3 separate regions of the Homo sapiens genome follow, and all the other regions are linked to region 2. The links are contacts of gene promoters, found by promoter capture Hi-C in human tissues and cell types (Jung and others, 2019). All regions are on one chromosome and are shown on one strand. The core of a region is centred on a gene start or on the middle of the fragment in contact, and the rest is flanking DNA. Distances in the headings are between cores, read along the strand shown.

Region 1 (3,360 bases), core at 17-2,516, 190 kb before region 2:
CAATTCTCCTGCCTCAGCTTCCAAGTAGCTGGGATTACAGGTGCCCGCCACCGTGCCCAGCTAAGTTTTTGTATTTTTACTAGAGATGGGGTTTCACCATGTTGGCCAGGCTGGTCTCGAACTCCTGACCTCAGGTGATCCACCTGCCTCGGCCTCCCAAAGTGCTGGGATTACAGGCATGAGCCACCATGTCTGGCCGAAAGATTTAAAAAAAAAAGAAAAAGCTCACCCAAACCAACTAGGAATAGAAGAGAACTTTGTCAACCTGAGAAAGAACATCTATGAAAAACTCACAGCTAACTTCATACTCAGTGGTAGAAGACTAAAGCCTTCCCCCTAGGATCGGGAAAAGACAAGGAACTAACTTTGTCTATACCAGAATTTCCATGGAAATGCCACAGAAGAGCTTTAATGCTCGTAAATACTTTGATTATAACTCAGTCCATCACCTTTACTTTATGAATCAAAAAACTTGGGCTCAGAAAGGCAAAATGACTTATCCCAGGTCATATAGCAAATTAGGGGCTGACTTAGAACTACAGTCCACTCCCTACCTCTGTTAAATCTTTACTTAAGGCCAGATGCAGTGGCTCATGCCTGTAATCCCAGCACTTTGGGAGGCCCAGGCAGATGGATCATCTGAGGTAAGGAGTTCAAGACCAGCCTGGCCAACATGGCAAAACCCCATCTCTACTAAAAAAAAAAAAAAAAAAAAAAAAAAAAAAAAATTACCTGGGTATGGTAGTGGGTGCCTGTAATCCCAGCCACTTGGGAGGCTGAGGCAGGAGAATCACTTGAACCCAGGAGGCGGAGGTTATAGTGAGCCGAGATCAGCACCACACTCCAGCCTGGGCAACAGAGTAGACTCGTCTCTTAAAAAAAAAAAAAAAAAAACAGATTTACTTAAGAGATTGTAAATATGGATACCACTAATCAAATAGATAAGATCTTTAGGCAAGCGCGGTGGCTCAAGCCTGTAATCCCAGTACTTTGGGAGGCCAAGGCGGATGGATCATGAGGTCAGGAGATCGAGACCGTCCTGGCTAACACGATGAAACCCCGTCTCTACTAAAAGTACAAAAAAAAAAAAAAGTTAGCTGGGCGTGGTGGCAGGTGCCTGTAGTCCCAGCTACTTGGGAGGCTGAGGCAGGAGAAATGGCGTGAACCCAGGAGGCAGAGCTGGCAGTGAGCAGAGTTCGCGTCACTGTACTCCAGCCTGGGAACAGAGCGAGACTCCATCTCCAAAAAAAAAAAAAAAAAAAAAGCTCTTTAGTTGGTGACAGAACTCAATCAAGAATATTTTGGGGAGACTAGACAGAGGTATCACCAAAAAAGAACACTACAAAGATTTCTTATGGATATAGATACAAATCCTTAATAAAATACAAGCAAACTGAATCCAGCAACAAAGAAAAAGGATTATATACCATGACAAACAAGATTTATCCCAGGAATACAAGGTTGGCTTAACATTCAAAAGTTAATTAATGTAATACACCATATGAACAGAACAAAAAAAATGGTCATCTTAATAGATGCAGAAAAAAGCATCTGACAAAATCCAGCACTCTTTCATGATTTAAAAAAACACCCAAACTAGGAGGAGAAGTGAAATTCTTCAATTTGATAAAATACATCTATGAAAAACCCATAGCTAACCCCATACTCAGTGGTAGAAGACTAAAGCTTTCACCCTAGGATCAGGAATAAGACAAGGATGTCTGCTCTTGCAAGTTCTATTGAACCATAGTGAAGGTTCTGGCCAAGGCAATTAAGCAGGAAATTGAAACAAAAGATATCTGGATTGGAAAGAAAGAAGTAAAATTATCTCTATCCATGGCTAACACAATCTTATAAATAGAAAATCCTAAGGTGTCCACTAAACTATTAGAACCAATAAACTAGTTCACCAAGGTTGCAGGACACAAGGTAAAAACTGTACCTCTATACTCTTGGAATGAACAATCCAAAAATAAAAGTAAGAAACTAGTTCCTTTTACTATAGCATCAAAAAATAAATAAATAATAAAATACTTAGAAATAAATTTAACAAAAGTGCAAATTTATACTCCTTAAACGGAAAAACGTTGTTGAAAGTAATTGAAGACAACCTAAATAAATGGAAAGACATCTCATGTTCATAGATCAGACGACTTAACATTGCTAAGATGGCAACACTGCCAAAGTTTAACTAAAAATTCAATGAGATCCCTATCAGAATGCCACTGAGTTGGCTTCTTTGCAGACACTAACAAGCTGATCCTAGAATCCATATGGAAATACAAGGAATCCAGAATAACCAAAACAATGTTGAAGAATAAGACTCACACTTCTCAATTTCAAAACTTACTAAAAAACTGTAGTAGTCAAGACAGCATGGTACTGCTATAAGGAGAGACATATAGATCACTGGAAGAGAACTGAGAGTATAAAATAAATAAACCCATACATCTATAGTCAACTGATTTTCAATAAGGGTGCCAAGACATTAAAATGGAGAAAAAAATAGTCTTTTCAGCTAATGGTGCTGGAACAATTGGATATTTACATGCAGAAGAATGAGTCTGAATCACTACCTCACATGATATCCAGCAATTACCTTAAAATGGATCAATGATCTAAATGTAACAGCTAAAGCCATAAACTCTTAGAAGAAAACAGAGACATCAATCTTCATAATCTTGAATTAGTCAATGATTTCTTAGACACAAGAATAAAATGAAAAAGAAAAAAAAAAGGTTTCATCAACATTAAAGACTTTTAGGGCCAGGAGCGGTGGCTCACACCTGTAATCCCAACACTTTGGGAGGCTGAGGCAGGTGGATCCCTTGAGGACAGGAGTTCAAGATCAGCCTGGCCAACATGGTGAAACCTCGTCTCTATTGAAAATACAAAAATTAGCCAGGCATGGTGGCACTCGCCTGTAATCCTAGCTACTCAGGGGGCTGAAGCATGAGAATTGCTGGAACCCAGGAGGCAGAGGTTGCAGTGAGGCAAGATCATGCCACTGCATTCCACCTGGGCAACACAGCAAGACTCTGTCTCAGAAAAAAAAAAAAAAAAAATTAAAGACTTTTAGGCCAGGCACAGTGGCTCACACCTACAATCCCAACACTTTGGGAGGCCGAGGAGGGAGAATCACTTAAGCCCAGGAGTTCGAGACCAGCCTGGGCAACATAGCAGGAACCCATCTCTATTATTTAAAAAAAAAAATTTTTTTTTAATTAAAGACTTTTGTGCTCCTAAGGAAACCATCAAAAAAGTGAAAAGACAGCTCATTTATGGAGGAAAATATATGCAAATCCATATTCCTGATAAGAGACATGTACCTAAAATACATAAAGAACTCTCATATCTCAA
Region 2 (3,261 bases), core at 503-3,002:
TGGAAAAACGTAGATGTAGAGAAGAACTAAGCCACATCTGTCGAGGGCCCTGCACTTGCCAGGCAAGTTTCTGAATGTCTGTTCTCTCTTTCAACACCACTCTCATCAGCTCCCACTTTACAGATAAAGAAACTGAGGCTCAGAGAGATGAACCAACCTGCTGAAGTCTCTGCAGTTGAGATGCGGCAGGCCAGGTCTGGAACTCGGACTGGTCCATACTTTCCTTCATGCTGTGCTGACTATCATGATCATCCCAGAACCACCACCCTCAAGCCCCCAGCTCAGCCAAGCTCCAGTCCTCACAGATGCTGCAGCAATGGCCACCAGGCTTGGTCCTGGCCTGGCCCCTTCACCTGGACTATGCTTTAGCAGGTCAACCATGTTTTCAACGCCCACTGAGGAAAACCAGCCACGTGGCCAGTCCGTAGTTTGGGAAGGCATTGGAGAAAAGAATCAAAATAACACTTTATTACCCAGCTAAAAAATTGAGAAAAACTATAGAGTGACTCAACGCCTGAAAGCAAATCTTTAGCAAATGCAAATCAGCATAGAGGTCTCTGAGGACTTTAATGACCAAGAGAAATTAAGCTCCCAACAGGAAGGAAAGGCCTCTCTGACTAAGCTAGGAGTCTCTTGCATGTCCCAAGTCAGAAGGCGGAGGTGCCTAAATGCTGGATTCCAGCTGGCACATAAATAGTGATCTAACTCGCCCCCCCTTTCGTGCAGCACACACCGGCACGCACACAGACAGTTACTCATGGTGCCAGGGCTGCTCACGGAACCCCAAACCCACAAGAGCTGGGGAGTTTCCCCAGGGCCCAGCTTCCTTTTCCTTCAGTTGGCCAAACCTCTGCATGCTTTAAGCAAGGCTGTTTCATTTTCTGAAAGTGCTTTATTTTTCCCTCTGAGGAGAGGGGAAACATCAGGATGCATTTTTCCTTAGTCCCCATTTTCCCCCCAGATCGCCTCACTCCAGCAACAACGTGGACCATAGCATCTCACTTCTAGAACCCTTGTCACTGTTTCAAAGGTCAGTCCCATCTGGGCCCACGAAGTCCCTGTGAGTCAGGTGGGCTGGCATTGCTAAGCCATTTCTCAGAACCTGAAGCCCAGAGAGGCTAATGCAGGGAGGCTCAAACTCACACAGTCAGTTGGGGTGGATCTGAATCCAGAACCCACGTGTCTAGGCACCAACTTGCTGCCTTTGAGCTTTTTGGATCACAAGCAATAGCAAGAAATACACCTGACATCGCGACCCAGAACACAGACACACACACACACACACACACACACACACACACACACATCTGTACAAAGCAACAAACTTCCCCAAAGCAATACTTACCCTACTTCTTGCCACGCACTCTGATCATTTCTATTCTATTTCAATTTTTTAAATGCAGGTCATGAGCTATGAAGTTGATTTACTGACCCATGAATGGGTCACAACCCGCAGTTTGGAAACAGCTGGATGGACCCCCACCTGTGCTTTCCAGCTTCTCCTAGAGCCTCAGGGCCCCAGGAAGGCAGTGTGGTCTCTGCAACCAGGTGAGGAGCAGGCAGCTGCTGAAATCAGGATGGAGGGAGTCCTCTGAGGGGGGACTCTGAAACGAGTCCTCTCTGACTCTGCCTGCCCCAGCTAGGCTCTGCCTTCAAACCTCAAACAGCTGGGCTTCCTGCAGAGGCTCTGCAGGAGCCTGGGCACCCTTGCAGCCACGATCCCAGCTCTCCCTCCAGCGACTTCCCGCAGCCTGAACCTCCCAGCTCCGGCTAGAAAATCCCCAGCTGGAGGCTGCCCATTCCCGAGCTGAGGCAGAATCATGTGAACTCCAATCTGGTGTCAGGCTGGGCGGTTGCCGAGGAACCACTCGCCAGCCAGAGGCTGAGGGCGGCGGAATGGCTCTCTCCACGCATCTTCCTCTGCTCTCCATGCAACCCAGAGTCAGTGAGCAGCCTCGCTGGGAATGTGAAAGCCTGAGCTAGGGGCAGGTGCCCTCAGGACTGTGGTGGGGGGATACAGGAGGAGGGGGTGGGCTAATTCTAGCCACCTTTCAGCACCTACAGGATACCGGGATCCAGGCAAGGGTGGGGGAAGCCGCCAACATCTGGGTCACTGGGGCTCAACCCTGGCCATGTGCATGAGAACATACCTGGGAGCCTACAAAAAAAATACCAATGCCCGGGCCCCACCCGGGGCTGGTTAAATCATGTTTCCTGGAAGTGACGTGCCAGCATCAGTGGCTCTAAAGCTCCCTGGACTGTTCTAAAGTGCAGTGAAGGTGGGCAGCCACGGATGTGGTGAAGCAGGTAGGATCCTGTTTGGCAGAGCAGCAGAGCGAAGGCAGTGGAGCTAAGGCTCTGGGCATCAGTAAGGATAGGGCGGGCATCAATGTTTTCAACTGTGTCGGTCCCCAGAGAAGGAATCAAGCCCAGGGCTCTGGCCCCGGGGGCCCTTCTGGCTCTCAGGAGCACTTACTAAACTCCCTCCCTCACACACATAACACGGAGGATGGAAAGGCCCAGCATTTTGGCGTAACCACCTCCCTCCAAGGCAGACTCCTTGGAAGCTGATTATAAGCTACGTTGCCAGAGCCAGGAAGCCAACAGATACGGTGCATGGGGCCACTGGGGGTGCGAGTCCTTCCTGCTGGAAGTGGCCAGAGCCCTGTGCTTGGTCCCTGCTCTGGGGACCAACACAGTTTAAAACACTGATGCCCATCTTATTCATGCCAAGAGCCTTGGCTCCACTGCCCTCACTCTGTTGGTAGGGGGTCTAAGGAAATCCCCTTCAGTGGGGCCTGGGCCCTCCAAGCAAATGCTACCACATAGCAGGCCTTTTAAAAACTATTTCCGGCCAGGTGCGGTGGCTCACGCCTGGAATCCTAGCACTTTGGGAAGCCGAGGCGGGTGGATCACCTGAGGTCAGGAGTTGGAGACCGGCCTGGTCAACATGGTGAAACCCCATCTCTATTAAAAATACAAAAATTTGCTGGGGGTGGTGGCGCATGCCTGTAATCCTAGCTACTCGGGAAGCTGAGGCAGGAGAATCACTTGAACCTGGGAGGCAGAGGTTGCGGTGAGCTGAGATCATGCCATTGCACTCCAGACTGGGCGACAAAAGCGAAACTCCGTCTCAAAAAAAAAAAAGTTTCCTACGTCAGTTGCTTCTTGCAGGCCTTATGTTACGAGCAAAGGCTTCAGCTTGTTGTGGTGCAGTAGCGTGCATTTAGACACACGTGCTACTTCTGAGTTGCGGAAGTG
Region 3 (3,693 bases), core at 160-2,659, 150 kb after region 2:
TTGAGAAATCCATTTCTCTCCTTTCTGTCACAAAAGGAACTGGTTCCTCCTGCCACTTCCTCCCACTTTGGCGTTTAGGGTATGTCCATAAAGTGAGCTGTGTTTCCAACCTTCATTCACGCCCGCATCACTCGATTCCCACAACACTCATCACCCACAAGTGCAGCTTTCAATCGGAGCTGAACGAGAGCTAACTAAGAATGAGCCCGACAAGCACCGGGAACACCAAGCACAGCTCACTCGCGGCTTCTGCAAGCTTAACATTCATCGTTTCAGCCATAATTTTTCCGGAAGCACAAATTCAGACCCCTTGCCCTCCGATCAGGGGATCACTCAGCTTCCACTCCCAGAAGCTTTGTTGCTTACTTTGTGCTCCCCAAGATGGGCTCATAAACACACATCTCTGTAAATAAATGGCCATGAATTAAGAAACAACTTCAGGAGTTCGAGACCAGCCTGGGCAACACAGGGAGACTCTGTCTCTACAAAAAATCAGAAACATAAATTAGCCAGAAGTGGTGGTGCATGCTGGTAGTCCCAGCTACTCGGGGGGCTGAGGCAGGAGGATTGCTTGAGCCTGGCAGGTCAAGGTCGAGGCTGCAGTAAGCCGTGATCGCACCACTGCACTCCAGCCTGGGCTACACAGAGCAAGACCCTGTCACCAAAAAAAAAAGAAAGAAAGAAAAAAACTTGAGCAAACGGTGAAAAAATCAATACTTGACATGGTAAGATAACCTGTATCAGAAACATGATTCTGGAACAAACACCAATAGGGGAGGGAGAGGGGCCTGGGGGAAGTCCCGATGTGTCAATGTCCAGAGGTGGGCAGGTCTCCAAGCAGACCCTGTGAGGCTGCATGTTCTGAGCATCTGGGCTCGGTGCTGTGCCCAACAGGCCCAGGCAAGGGGACAGCCACAGGGGCCTGGGTGGCATCCCCAACACCAGGAGTGAAAGCAAGACTCCTGAGCCAAACCTCCTTCCCGCAAAGGCTGAGGAAATGATGGCCGCTCCTGAAACAGGAGAAAAGCCCCAGCAAATCAAGGTCTTGACTCAAGTCCTAGAGAAGGAAGCCTCAGAGAACAGAAAGACTGTGTACACACACACACTCACACACACTCTCACACTCACACACTCTCACACTCATACTCACACACACACATTCTCTCCATCTCCTTGCCCTGGCTGAACTCCAACTCTGCTAATTACATCAAACCCACCTTTCGCCCTCTGCAACACCTGCAATTAACCCTGAATCTCTGCTTCCTGCCGCTCTGGGGTGAGGGGTGAAGTCTGAGGCCAGCTGCTCCCTGTTCCACCCTCCGCCCAACCCCGGAAGTTTCAGAGGTGCCTGAAGCAACCCGGTCCCTTCCTCTGGGCTCCAGGCTGGTGTGAAGCCGGGTTATCACGGGAGCCCACACTCCCAGCTGGGGGGCACACCACACGCAGCACCCCCACCCCACTGCGGGTGCAGATCCTGACTGGCCCTGCCAGCCTTTACAGGACAGCACGTCCACCTGCAGCAAGTTACCTCCCTACATGATTCTAGAAAGCCTGGCTTTTAGAAAGAAGCTTCTCCAAGCAGCTGATGATGAAGAAAACTTGCAGCTTTCCGGGGCTGTTTCCTGATCTTGCTCCATGAGCCTTGGTTTCCTAATCTATCGAATGGAGACAGTAATTTCTTCTTTATAATACCGAAGTAACAGTGAAAAATGACGAGGCTCTAAAGCCCCCAGCATGGGCACTCAGTAAAGGTTAAGCTCCCTCCCATTCATCTCTCAGCCTTTTGATTTGGGCACAGATCTGAGTCCCACAGTTCCTCGCTGCTATCTGATATGCCTGGACAGCATTTCTTCTGACAACAAAAAGGAGAGAAAAGAAAGGAAAACAAGTCCAACTGGCACTCTAACAGCTTACAGAAACCAAATCTGCCTCCCAAGAGGTTTGGGCGTTCAGCACACCACCAGGTCCTCAGCCCGTTTGCTTCACCCCTGGCCAACAGTTGAACCACTGAGCTTGTAACACCAACACTGGCTGGCATGGTGGCTCACGCCTGTAACCCCAACACCTTGGGAGGCCAAGGCAGGAGGATCGCTTGAGCCCAGGAGTTTGAGTAGCCTGGCCAACACAGTGAGACCCCATCTCTACAAAAAATACAAAAATAATTAGCTGGGCATGGTGGTGCACACCTGTAGTCCCAGCTACTTGGTAGATTGAGGCTGGAGGATTGCTTGAGCCCAGGAGTTTGAGGTTACAATGAGCTATGATCGCGCCACTGCACTCCAGCATGGGTGACAGAGTGAGACCCTGTCTCAAAAATAAATAAATAAAAAGGTAAAATAAATAATTGAAAGAAATACAAGCAGCAGGAGCCAGCAGGACAGGGAGCACCACAGGCTGGGAGTGCAGGCCTTTTGTTAAGTGTGGAAAGGGTGATTCTAGTGGCCCTGAGAGCTGCAGCCCTCTTGTCTGGCTGATCAGGAAGCTACTGCCAGCAGCCTGCAGCCCTGGGGGCGCACAGGTCTGCTGCAGAGCATGGCTTTCCTCGGCCCAGACGGCTGTTCCTGCTCCTCTAGGGTGCTTGCTCCAGGTGGGCACTGAGCCGCCCACAGCTGAGTGGTCTCCTGGGCCTCGGGCAGCCCTGTGTGCTGGTGCCCTCTCTCCTCAGGGGTTCTCCTCTCTGCGGACCACTCTCCCTCTGGTCCTCCCACTTGGGGGACTCCTCACTGTCATCTTGGGGAGTCCCATGTGCTCTGCCCAGCCCTAACCCTGGGGCCTGCTCCCACCTCCTTGGCCATGGGCAGTTCTCATTCTCCATGCCTGCTTGTGACTCTTGAGCCAACCTCCCCATGGCTCCCATCTGCATTCCCAGCCAGGAACGCTCAGATCCACCTGACCGACACCAGTGACACCAAGCTGGCTTGCTCCCCACTAAGCCCACTTCTCCTCACCCAGAGCCCCAGGCCCACCCAGAGAACAGCACCAACGCCCCAACCCCAAGTCACACCAGGAACCCACGGACCCCTCAGCCCTGGATTCCCACATCTGGGCTGGATCCCCATAGAGTCTCCTAGAGCTCGTCCTTCTCTCTGCTGCCGTGGCCACAGTCCAGGGCCCTGCCACCTGCCAACCCCTCCCAACACCTGTGCATTCTCCAAATGGGAGCAGGAGTTTTCTTTCCTAAGCTCTCTCTTTTAGAAGTTCAGGTTCCTAGGCCAGGCTCAGTGGCTCACGCCTGTAATCCCAGCACTTTGGGAGGCCGAGGCAGGTGGATCATCTGAGGTCAGGAGTTCAAGACCAGCCTGGCCAACACGGTGAAACCCCGTCTCTACTAAAAATACAAAAAATGTGCCAGGCATGATGGCAGGTGCCTGTAATCCCAGCTACTCAGGAGGCTGAGGCAGGAGAATCATGTGAACCCAGGAGGCAGAGGTTGCAGTGAGCCGAGATCGCGCCACTGCACTCCAGCCTGGGCGACAGAGTGAGACTCCCTCTCAAAAAAAAAAAAAAAAAAGAAGAAGAAGAAGAAGTAGTTGAGATCCCTAAGCACCTAAGCACAGCCTGGAGCCTCACCCCCATACCCGCAAGAGACGCCCCAACCTTCAGGCTGCTTTATGTCTCCAAAGCTCTGCAGGTGCCGCTCTTCCCCAGAGGACACCCCTTCCCTGCCAGTCAACCCCACCAGCCGCAGGCAGA

What was found. Contacts are between HindIII fragments. The study calls those that stand out against the background at their distance.
Region 1: a contact is called between a fragment that was not itself captured here and the fragment with the promoter of GPR68 in region 2, in 1 of the 25 tissues and cell types used here (spleen).
Region 3: a contact is called between a fragment that was not itself captured here and the fragment with the promoter of GPR68 in region 2, in 1 of the 25 tissues and cell types used here (spleen).

Annotation. Positions count from the first base shown.
Region 1 is chr14:91,051,591-91,054,950 of GRCh38, forward strand. The region is part of intron 1 of RPS6KA5 (ribosomal protein S6 kinase A5); the gene reads right to left. Among named protein-coding and RNA genes, the nearest start is that of RPS6KA5, 7.4 kb to the right of the region's middle. The HindIII fragment of the contact is 3,602 bases long and covers 1-3,067 here.
Region 2 is chr14:91,242,952-91,246,212 of GRCh38, forward strand. GPR68 (G protein-coupled receptor 68) reads right to left here and starts at 1,753. Exons shown (of 2, transcript NM_001177676.2): 1 at 1,346-1,753. RefSeq lists enhancers at 281-390, 1,450-1,951, 1,471-1,520. The HindIII fragment of the contact is 47,768 bases long and covers 1-3,261 here.
Region 3 is chr14:91,396,346-91,400,038 of GRCh38, forward strand. All of the region lies in intron 3 of CCDC88C (coiled-coil domain containing 88C), which reads right to left. The region is part of intron 1 of LOC105370624 (a long non-coding RNA gene); the gene reads right to left. Among named protein-coding and RNA genes, the nearest start is that of CCDC88C, 20 kb to the right of the region's middle. RefSeq lists enhancers at 1,983-2,052, 2,146-2,777, 3,419-3,478. The HindIII fragment of the contact is 3,448 bases long and covers 1-3,133 here.